Regions from separate parts of the Homo sapiens genome. Here region 2 is linked to region 1. The links are contacts of gene promoters, found by promoter capture Hi-C in human tissues and cell types (Jung and others, 2019). All regions are on one chromosome and are shown on one strand. The core of a region is centred on a gene start or on the middle of the fragment in contact, and the rest is flanking DNA. Distances in the headings are between cores, read along the strand shown. Region 1 holds the start of SULT1C4 (sulfotransferase family 1C member 4). Region 2 overlaps LIMS1 (LIM zinc finger domain containing 1).

Region 1 (5,747 bases), core at 2,335-4,834:
GTATTTCAAATAAACAACCAGTGATTTATTTTGAAGAATAAGTATATTCCAAATATTGCACAGAAAATGCATGTACTAAAAATTAATTCACTGTTTATCTAAAATTCAAATTTAACTGGGCATCCTGTATCTATATTTGCTACAGCTGGAAGCTCTACATGACCCAGCATTTGACACAGCTTTTCATTTTTCTGAGAATGTAAGGGGTTCTTAGGTTATGTTTTAAGGAATTGTCTGAAATTATAGATTGCCTACATCCTTGCTTCATCTCACTAAGTGCTTACAGTTACCTCCAACCTCTGAAGCTGATTAAAGTATTATAGCAAAGAGTAATATAATTCATTTGAGTTTCATTTTCTCCCTACTCAGCTCCTGGAATAGTGTACTGCAAACAGAATGGCCTTAAGGCCATCTAAATAGAGGAAGGGGGAAAAGAAGTTATGAATAAACCATATTTATCAATATCTGAACAATCTGGATTTGATTCCAGTTTTAATTATGTGGACTTGTTAGTTCTTCCTCTTGCTTCGGTTTCAAGTATTGAACAACAAATAAGTCATTTACAATACCTCTAAGCTAAATATTGATTCAAAGAACAAAGACCATTACAATTCAACTTTTTCAACACAGGCTTAGCTCACTCTCCAATGGGTATCTTTTTTTTTTTTGAGACCGAGTCTCGCTCTGTCACCCAGGCTGGAGTGCAGTGGTGCAGTCTCAGCTCACTGCAAACTCCACCTCCAGGGTTCAAGTGATTCTCCTGCCTCAACCTCCTGAGTAGTTGGGATTCCAGGCATGCACCATCACGCCTGGCTAATTTTTCTATTTTTAGTAGAGTCAGGGTTTCGCCATGTTGGCCTGGCTAGTCTCAAACTCCTGACCTCAGGTGATCTGCCCACCCTGGCCTCCCAAATGCTAGGATTACAGGCATGAGCCATCGCGCCTGGCCGGGTGTGTTTTAAAACAGTGTGCCGAGTCAAAACGTCTTTTAGACATATTCCTTTTTTTTAATTTTATTTATTTATTTTTTTTTTTGAGATGGAGTCTCACTCTGTTGCCCAGGCTGGAATGCAGTGGTGCGATCTTGGCTCACTGCAAGTTCCGCCTCCTGGGTTCATGCCATTCTCCTGCCTCAGCCTCCCGACTAGCTGGGACTACAGGCACCTGCCACCATATCCGGCTAATTTTTTGTATTTTTAGTAGAGACGGGGTTTCACCGTGTTAGCCAGGATGGTCTCAATCTCCTGACCTCGTGATCCACCTGCCTCGGCCTCCCAAAGTGCTGGGATTACAGGCATGAGCCACCATGCCCTGCCTACATATTCCTTTCGTAAAAAGCAAACAAACAGAGACCTGTTTAAGGGTAGTAACCAGCATGCTGGATTTTACTAACAAAAAAAGAGTTTGGAAACCCCAGTTACAAATTTTGCAAATGAATCACATTTGAGGCCTGAACAAGTTAGTAGTTTGCAAAAAGGACATCTAAAGCGCGTTAAGAGTTGGAATCTCCTCTCCATGCTCAGAAGCAAACAGTGACAGAGTTGAAAGGGAGGTTCAGGGAAGAATTAGAGGGGGAGAGTATATTAGCTTTATCTTGGGTACCCAATATATCCCAAGATTATAGGATACCTTATTTACATCCAACATTACATTAACCCTGTGAGATTAATAAAAAACGAAAGGCTCAGAAGAGATAAGTATTAGAAAAGTTACACAGCTATTAGGGGGCAGTTTAAATTCAAACCCATATATTTAGAATTCCAAAGCAATGCTTGTCAAATATAGACTTAGCACCAACTTTATTCTTATAATCACTAAATATATTTATTTAATTCTCCTAACCTCATGAGAAAGTACTATTGAGTAAAAACATTAAGTGAGAATAAGAGCAGTGTTTGTAGTCAAGATCACTTTTCAAATTATTTGGAACTTCCCATCTTCCCTGGATCTATTTTCAATCCCAGTCAGTCATCTTTGGGTCCAGAAGCATATCCTCCCCCATCTCCCAGCCCTCCCCCTCTAGCACACAACGCACTGGAGAAAACTGCTAAGGCATTGCTGAATATCTACCACTCTACTCTGATGGCACACAGGGCCAAAAAGATTATAGAATAAAATCTAACTGAAAAATTATAGGTGATTTTTATAAGTCTGTTTAAATGCATATGCATCCCAGGCATTCCACCTGGCAGTCTCTGTCTCAAGGGCCCATCCACCTCACCATGGTCTGGAGGGAGGGGATGAGGAATAGGGAAAGCCAAAGAATTGATCTTTTCTGAGTTTGCATCCAGAACATGGGCCACAGAGAAATGGTGAACAAAGTCACCCATTATTATTAACAGCTATGATTTATTCAACATTTCCCTGTTGCCAAGCATTAAATAAGCTGTTTTATCTCCCCACAACCATGAGGTAGATAATGTTAAGATCCCCAATTCAGACCTGAGGAAAAGCGTGATATGAAACAGAGAAAGATTCTGTAACCTGCCATTGCCCACAGCTACTGGGACTTGGCACAGGGTTCAAATACAGGCAGCCTGACTTCTCTCTGAAGGATGTCAAGCCACAGCCACCATACTCACCTAGTCCCCACATAATGATGGCCCAAGGAACTCGCTTCCTCAATTTTTGCTTAGTTTTACTCATTCATTCTTTCGAGAAATAGAAGAATGCCAGACACTAGGCATACAGCTATCAAACAGTGAGAAAACAACAGGCCCCATTTCATGTGCCTTAGAGTGTAGTGAAGGAGACAGAAAATGCCAACAAGTAAACACGCAAAAACTAACTGTCAATGGTTGCTCTAAAGGAACACAAAGTGCCATGAGCAAGGAAATAGGAGGGACCTACTTGAGATGACATAGAAAGTCAAAGAAGGCTTCTCCAGAAAGGGGGCATCAAAGCTGGGACACGAAGAAAGAGAATCAGACAGCCAGACACACAAGAGCCGACAAGATCTCCAGAAGGAGTGCTGCCATGGGGAGCAAGTGTGGCATGGCCCTGGGGTGCAGGCCAGGCCGGGGGCAGGGACTGAAGCAAGTTGTGAAATTTCTGATTATCAGGGGCAGAATGGATTCCTAAGGCAGCCACTGTCTTCTGTTAACTCTGGAGTTTTCTGCATCCCTTTTGCTTTAAATGAGGCATACATGTTTTCATAGCTGTGATGAAACCCCTACAATTCTCCAGTTTAGCATTATTTATTTTACTCTTAAAAAATAACAAAGCTGACCCTGGCAGATGTTTGTACTGGGAGATTCAGATCCATCCAGGCCCCCACTGTTAATAGCCCACGGGAAAGTCCCTGCAGTCTCTCAGGGAAGTCATTCTGTGTAGAATCTGTAATTTCACAGGCAAGTCCTGCAACTTTTTAATTGTTTAAAATTCCCAGAAGGAATAATTACTGAAATTATCTATGAAGGGTTTAATGGACACAGACATGAGAGCTATAAACAATGTGATACTATGTCCTGTTAACTCACAGAGAACGGAAGGGCTGGAACGGGACCCAGCCAGCAGGGTTTGTGACCGCCTCTGCTGTGACGTCACAGCCTGGTGAGGAGGGGGCTGCAGTTCCTCAGGAAACTGCCAGTGGACAAATTCATAAACAAGAGCTCCAGTTCCCTGGAACCTGAGTCGGGAGACCTGCAGCTCACTTTCTCCCTGTTTGCTGGCCAGCAGGGTTTGTGGCCGCCTCTGCTGTGACGCCACAGCCTGGTGAGGAGGGGGCTGCAGTTCCTCAGGAAACTGCCAGTGGACAAAGTCATAAACAAGAGTTCCAGTTCCCTGGAACCTGAGTCGGGAGGCCTGCAACTCACTTTCTCCCTGTTTGCTGGCCCAGACAGGCCTGTGCTAGAGGGCTGGATAGTGTGGTAGTGTGGTGGATAGAGTGCTGCCTCTATCCACAACGCAGCCATATGCTGACTGAAGATAACTTTGTGTCTGGAAGAGCCCTCTGATTTCTTACACTAATGGCCTTACACGACATGGAGGATTTTACATTTGATGGAACAAAGCGCTTAAGTGTCAACTACGTGAAGGGAATTCTTCAACCGACAGACACCTGTGACATCTGGGATAAGATCTGGAACTTCCAAGCCAAGCCTGATGACCTGCTTATTTCTACCTATCCTAAAGCAGGTAGGTGGAAGGGCTTGCAGGGGAAGGGGAAGAGGAGAGTTAGGAAGGTAAGTGGAAGTATGCATTAGTCATGAAATAAAGAAGTTGATCTGGAAAACTCTGGACAGAGTGATATGGCTAAGGAAAGTTACTAGTGGAAACTGAAGCTATACCGAAACATACTAAAATGACATACAAATTTTTAGAATTCAATCTTCCTATGATACTATGATGTACTTCCTTTTTTTTTTTTTTTCACTTTCCCAGGAGAGAGTGAAAACAGTTAAGAGCAAAAGGGTAGACTTGTTTATTTATTCATTCCCAATCTAGGCCCTTATTGTAGATCTTGTAAAAAGCTGCTTTGAGTGTGTGAGCTAGAAAGGTGATCCTGAGTCTGATTTGGGAAAGAAATAGGGGAGCTTTGGTTCTGCAATGCTGATATCACCTCAGCAGCCCTCCCATCTCAGGGTCTGAGAACCATCCTTCTGATTTCCACCTTCCTTTGTGGTAAGTTTTGAACCAACTGCCTTATCTCAACAATCAGTTTAACAAAGTTGTCTGTAAAAGTAGGACTAGCTTAAGCCGAGCCACCACGTCATAAAAATTGGGTGATGATGAGGTGGAAATAGTTCTCTATAAATATTTTTGCATATCTACATATCTACTAGAAATACATTACTGGGTCCACACACAAATTGTATATACATTTGCTCTTTGCAAAATCAAGCTGTCAAAAACTCTTGTTATACACACACAAACACACACACATCAAAAAATCTAAACCTCAGTATTTTCTGAGACTGTTCAAAATCCTCTTTTGTTCTTATCTCTCAAGATCCTGACAGAAGATTCTGCAGGCACATGGAGGCCTTGGTCTCTTCTTTGTCCATCTGTTTCATTTTGGTCCTGATTTCCCAATCTTACTCATCAGGAGCCCATTCAGGATCAAATTTTTCTGAATGTAAATTTCTAAAAGTAGCCACTGGTGAGGATCACATCTCATCATCTTAATTTCATTGACAATTCCACTTGATTATCAATTCAATACATAAATAATCTTTTCTCTATCTGCCAAACGCAAGTACAAAGATATGGTTCATTTAGGTTTTTCATGGCATTAATGAGGTTTAAGCAATTCAAAAAGCACACTAAGAAAATTAAATACTTGCCATCTAAAGTAATATTTAATCATAACTAAAACCATATACATTAATGAAGGCTATTTTATTAGAAGGAAGAAGAAACAAGCATAGATGGCAAAAATAGTTCACCCTAAATTTTTAAAAGAATAATACTCTGAATGACACAAGAAAAAAATACATCATAGAATCACTGGCCTCTAGAGAATAAATTGAGAAGTCATTCCACTCACCCCGGAGCCTCTAGCAACATTTGAATCTGCCCTCATGTTGGCTCATGTCTATAAATTCATTCAATTCATTCATTATAGACATTCAGTGTTATGGCTATAAATTCCCATAAAACTAGTACAAATGGCTGGACTATTCTTTGCATGGATAGCTAAAGATATCTTGGCCCTTTGTCCTGTAATAAAAGTTGCTGCCAGAAAATACAGGAGACCAACTACTATAAAATATAAAATGTAATTTAATTTTTTTCTAACCTATGCC
Region 2 (5,747 bases), core at 924-3,423, 180 kb after region 1:
GGAACACCTTGTTATTCTGAAGCCAAGGAAATTGCCAGGAGAGGATAGAAGAGGTGGTGGAGGAATGACACCTCTTGGTGGGGTCAGTGGTATTGAGATCCTGTGGAAAATCTAGGAGATGCTGCTACTTATTTCCTGTATATTCACTTGATACCTATTGCCCTTTACATCTTCTTCAGTATGAGCCAGACTAACCCATGGCTCCACTTCATCCCAGACTCTAGAGCCTACACTCTATTCCCGAGGAGTGGTCACCTTCTCCCCCTGTACTTGGCATGGTGTCCCATTGGGGTAGTGCTACTGAAGGACAGTCTCTGAAGAAGAGTATCTTCCTTATTCTTGGGGTAGAAACTCTTAACATAGATGGGGTGATAAAATGCAAGAGATTTATAACAGCTTGCCATTAGAGCTAGAGTATATTATTTATCACCATTGATTATTTTGCCAAATGTTTTTGTTTAAAAAGCTTCTTAGTTTCTGGATGCCTCAGGGTAATTTGTCACCTGCACTATTCAATATCCGTGCCATTACAGCTGAGAGGAGTGTGCTGGCCTCTAATGTTCAGAGCGCAGCTGGCAACCAGCCTGACAAAAGTACATGACATGACGCTCTCAGGAGGCGGCCAGACACCCTGGTCACTAGGGGAGGTGTGCTCTTTAGGTAAGGGACACACAAACCATTGTTGAATAGCTCCTGTGTGCAGAGAGGGACCAGGAGCATAATCATTATCTGGAAGCTTATTGAAGATGTAGAATCTTGGGCCCTATCTATCTCAGACCTACCAAATCCGGATCTGTGTTGTAGTGAGATCCTCTGGGAGTTCATGTGCATTAAAGTTTGAGAAACACAGGAATAGTGGACAGTGCTGGCTGCCTATCAGCATCCATTTCCTTTGTCTTTCCTAATAACGAGATGCACATTTTCTTCGGTTACTTCCCCTTCACCCTTAGCCATGAGAATCCATTCTTTAAGTAGGTGAGAGCATGGTTTTCCCGTGGTGACTGTTTATGGTCTAGAGGTATCCACATGATCTGGGTTGCCTCAGTCATAAGGAAAGACTTTATTTTTTGAGGGGGGAGGGGGAAGCATTTTCCTTCACATCCAGAATGAGAGAGCAAATAATGAAGCATAGCTGTGACCGTATTTCCACTGGCAGCCATTCTGTGACCTTGAGGGGATCAGTCTTGAGGTGAGTCTGACACTGAAGTTGTCAGAGCAGAAAGACAGAAGGAACCTGCATTTTTGGTTCTGGCACTCACCTGCTGGTCACAGGATCCAGGCCTGGATCTCCCTCTGCCTCTCATCTCATAGTTCTGTGTGATAATAAATTTTCCCATGGTTTATGCCAGTTTGACTTTGGGTTTTCTGATTTCCTGCAGCTGGAAGCATCCTAGTCTGCTTTGGTAATGAGCACTCTGAGCACAAAGTGCTGTGTGCGTGGTCCTCTTGTGAAAGGCCTACATTCTCAGGTGCTCCTAGGCTTTTCTCCTAGTCTTGTGAATTGTGCTTTTACCCTGTGGTGATTATTCCACTGTTCACATGAAAGTTGGTGGAGGGAGAGGAAAGCTATAAGGGCAGAGAGTAGAATTGGGAGGCTGTCCTGAGGGAAGGCAGGCTTGCACTCAGAAGTGCTGTGTGCTGGACTGTGGGGTGAGCCAGGCTGCAGTTGGCTGGCTGTGGAGCCCACTGGCTGGAGTGCTGGTCCATGCTTTGCTCCTCATTTGGTGTTTGAACCTCAGTTTCCTTATCTGTAAAATAGAATCCTAATGAAATAGTGGAGGTAGATTGGAAATGCTTTGAAAACTTGACTCTTTTTTGCCCGGTTTAATTATCCTGGTTTTTTTTTTCCTTTTTTGCTATAGCAAAATATAAATAACACAAAATTTACCATCATAATCATTTTTAAGTGTATAATTCAGTGACAGTAACTTCACATTCACAATGCGATTAAACAATAACTCCCATTCTGCCTTGCCCCCAGCCCCTAGTAACTTCTGTTCTACTTTTTGTCTCTATGAATTTGCCTACTCTAGGTACGTCATATAAGTAGAATCATATATTTTTATCCTTTTGTGTCTTGCTAATTTTACTTGGCATAATGTCCCCAAGGTTCATCCATGTTGTAGCTATATCAGAATTTTGTTCCTTTTTATGGCTGAATAATATTCCATTGTATGTATATACTGTACTTGTTTATCCATTTATCTGTTGATGGACACGGGTGATTTTCACCTTTTGGCTATTGTGAGTAATGTCACTTATGAACACTTGAGTACTGTGAGCACTGGTGTACAAATATCTGTTTGAGTCCCTGCTTTTAATTCTTTTGGGCATATACCTAGGAGTGGAGTTGCTGGATCATATGGTAATTCTGTGTTTACCTTTTAGGACCTGTCAAACTGTTGAAAAGTTAACTCTTATGTTATTTATATTTTCAGACATAGATTGGAAGATGGACTTATGCTTTTTCTCTTTCTCTCCTTTCCTTCCCTCCCTTCCTTTGTTGGAGGCTGAAAGAATGAGGGTCAGTGATCAACTCAGTATACCACTGGAGGCTATATGAGTAAACAGCAAACTGTTCTCATGAATGCAGAATGTTAGCAAGCTGACAACTGCGTCTGCTGCCCAGAAGGAATGCTGAGGGCAGTCATGCCCCAGGCACAGTGTTGCTTGTGATTAGGCAAATCTGAAGCCTGTTAGCAATAATGTGAACCTGTGATCAGTCAAGCAGCTGACCAATCGTTACCTACTCCTCCCTGCTCTTTCTACCCAATAAATACAAAGGCTGTAGAAGCTCAGGGCTGCCTTTGCTCACTAGAAGCAGGGATCCCCCTGACCCCTTCTTTAAAACAGTTTCTTTTTTGTTTTCATTTCTGCGTTCATCCGCCTTCGTTCAGTCCTGTAGTAACTGTCACTACCTACCTACCTTTGTTCCTTCCTTCCTTCTCCCCTACCCTTGACATATAGGGTCTCACTGTGTCTCCCAGGCTAGAGTGCAGTAGAGCCATCACAGCTCACTGCAGCCTCAACCTCCTGAGCTTAAGCGATCCTCCCACCTCAGCCTCCTGAGTAGCTGGGACCACAGGCGCACACTACCGTGCCTGGCTAATTTTTCATTTTTTGTAGAGACGGTGTCTCTCTATGTTGCCCAGACTGGTCTTGAACTCCTGGGCTCAAGTGTTGCTCCTGCCTCAGCCTCCCAAAATGTTGAGATTACAAGTGTGAGCCAACACGCCCAGCCTTTTTTTCTTAAGACTATAGATTTTCATTGGTTGAGAGGACTTGGTAATTTTAACATGGAACTTCTGAACTGACCATTTTATAAGATATCGAACATATGATCAGATTCATATTTTACCCTCATTAATCAAAAAATAGTAGGAACTTTTTTTTTTTTGAGAGACCTAGTCTTGCTCTGTTGCCCTGGCTAGAGTGCAGTGGCACAATCTGGGCTCACTGCAACCTCTACCTCCCATGTTCAAGCAGTTCTCCTGCCTCAGCCTCCCTAGTAGCTGGGACTACAGGTACGTGCCACCACGCCCAGCTAATTTTTGTATTTTGATAGAGATGGGGTTTCACCATGTTGCCCAGGCTGGTCTCAAACTCCTGACCTCAGGTGATCCACCTGCCTCAGCCTCCCAAAGCGCTAGAATTACAGGCATAGGCCACCATGCCCAGTTGGAATTTTCTGTAAAGTTTCAAAGATTTAAGTGAACATGATTCTTGAAGTTGTTGATTTGAAGGTACCCAACTTTGTGTGTGAGAACAAATTGGTTTATTTCTACTAATAAGTACAATGTTATCTCTATGATCTGTGAAAAACAAAAGGCTGAATGTATGAAGGGGAAATTATGGATATAAAATACAAGATCTCACAGTTCTATTAATACTTTCTAGCAAACAGACTATTTAATACCTAAAAATTTTAAGTATAGGACTATGAAGAAAGCCATTATGAGAATTCCTGTTACAGTATCTTTGAAACATACTAGAAGGTAATTATAGATTTAAAATGGATTGCCCCTTCTTTCCTTGAACTTGTAGTATCGGTTATATCAGCCCACCTGAAGATTTGTGCATTTTTTTCTTTTTTTTTTTTTGAGACGGAGTCTTGTTCTGTCGCCCAGGCTGGAGTGCAGTGGCACAATCTTGGCTCACTGCAAGCTCCACCTCGTGGGTTCACGCCATTCTCCTGCCTCAAACTCCCAAGTAGCTGGGACTACAGGTGCCTGCCACCATGCCTGGCTAATTTTTTAGTAGAGATGGGGTTTCACTGTGTTAGCCAGGATGGTCTCGATCTCCTGACCTCGTGATCCGCCTGCCTCAGCCTCCCAAAGTGCTGGGATTACAGGTGTGAGCCACCACACCGGGACGATTTGTGCGTTTTTATAGTACTCTAAATGCCTTTGTTGCACTGGCATTTCTCGTCTTTTGTTAGATGTGAATAAATTGACAGTCTATAGAGTGCATTGGAGACAAATATCCTTTTACATCAACTGTGAGAAAACTTTTAAGAATATATTTATTTATTTATTTTTAATTTTTTTTTTTTTGAGATGGAGTCTTACTCTGTCACCCAGGCTGGAATGCAGTGGTGCGATCTCGGCTCACTGCAACCTCCGCCTCCTGGGTTCAAGCAATTCTCTTGCCTCAGCCTCTCGAGTAGCTGGGCCTACAGTTGTATGCCACCACACCTGGCTAATTTTTTTGTTTTTGGTAGAGACGGGGTTTCACCATGTTGGCCAGGCTGGTCCCAAACTCCTGACCTCAGGTGATCCACCCGCCTTGGTCTCCCAAAGTGCTGGGATTACAGGTGTGAGCCACTGTGCCCGGCCAAGAACATATTTAAATGTACAAAAATAACTCTTCAGAAACTGCCAAGGCGCCGGGGGCAGCTTCTGATTCCCACCGTTAGGGCAGGCTGAGCAAGGAGCTAAGCCTTGCTTAGCTAAGCCTCACACTAATATCACTTCCACGAAATTATTCTGTATGGGATAATTTATATACCCTTAGACACTGGCTTTAATTCAGAGTTTGCACATAAAGTTCTCTGTAGAAGGCTATGAAGATACATAATCACAATATCCCTTGACATCCATGGATGTGAGAAATGCTAGCCTGGAAAATGTGAGAATTGGTTCCTGAGAATTGTTAAATGTCCTCAGCGACATTAAAACACTTCAAAATAACTTGTAAAAATGTGTTGTTCTAGAGTGATTTGCATTACATGTAATTTTAAAAGTTTATTAGTCTGTAAATATGAGTTGATTTTAATTGCCTGTGATACATAATTACTTATGTTCCATAAGGAGTAAGAAAATAAGACTTTCTCATTGCGGTCTTATAATCAACTCTCTTAATTTTTAAAAACTATTACTTTTAGTTTGCAGCACAGTGCTAGGTTTATATTAGAAACTATAATTATGAAGAAGCATGATAAAAATCTAATCTCTTTATAGGATCACATTCTTCACATTTAAAAGACATTTTTCTATTACCCTCTCCCTCAAATGAAACCTCTGTGAAATTGGAAATATTCTGTCTTCGATGTGCTTGTTATAGAATCTATATCAGTCTTCAACATACATTTGTGGGAAGTGTGTGGCGTGTGTAGGTATGTGGGTGTGTGTCCTTTCATAATATTTTTAGTGAGTTGATCAACATTTAAACTGGCAAACAATTATAAACTGGTTTGACACTAAAGCAGCCTTAAAAACTGTTATCTGAAAGTCACTCTGAGCACAAAT

What was found. The method cuts DNA at HindIII sites, captures the fragments that hold promoters and counts their contacts. A contact is called where the count stands out against the background at its distance.
Region 2: a fragment that was not itself captured here is called in contact with the fragment with the promoter of SULT1C4 in region 1 in 1 of the 25 tissues and cell types used here (neural progenitor cells).

What each region holds. Positions count from the first base shown.
Region 1 is chr2:108,374,370-108,380,116 of GRCh38, forward strand. It overlaps SULT1C4 (sulfotransferase family 1C member 4), which reads left to right and starts at 3,585. Exons shown (of 7, transcript NM_006588.4): 1 at 3,585-4,137. The coding sequence starts at 3,969. The HindIII fragment of the contact is 17,622 bases long and covers 1-5,747 here.
Region 2 is chr2:108,554,136-108,559,882 of GRCh38, forward strand. The region is part of intron 1 of LIMS1 (LIM zinc finger domain containing 1); the gene reads left to right. Among named protein-coding and RNA genes, the nearest start is that of LIMS1, 23 kb to the left of the region's middle. The HindIII fragment of the contact is 4,582 bases long and covers 1-4,464 here.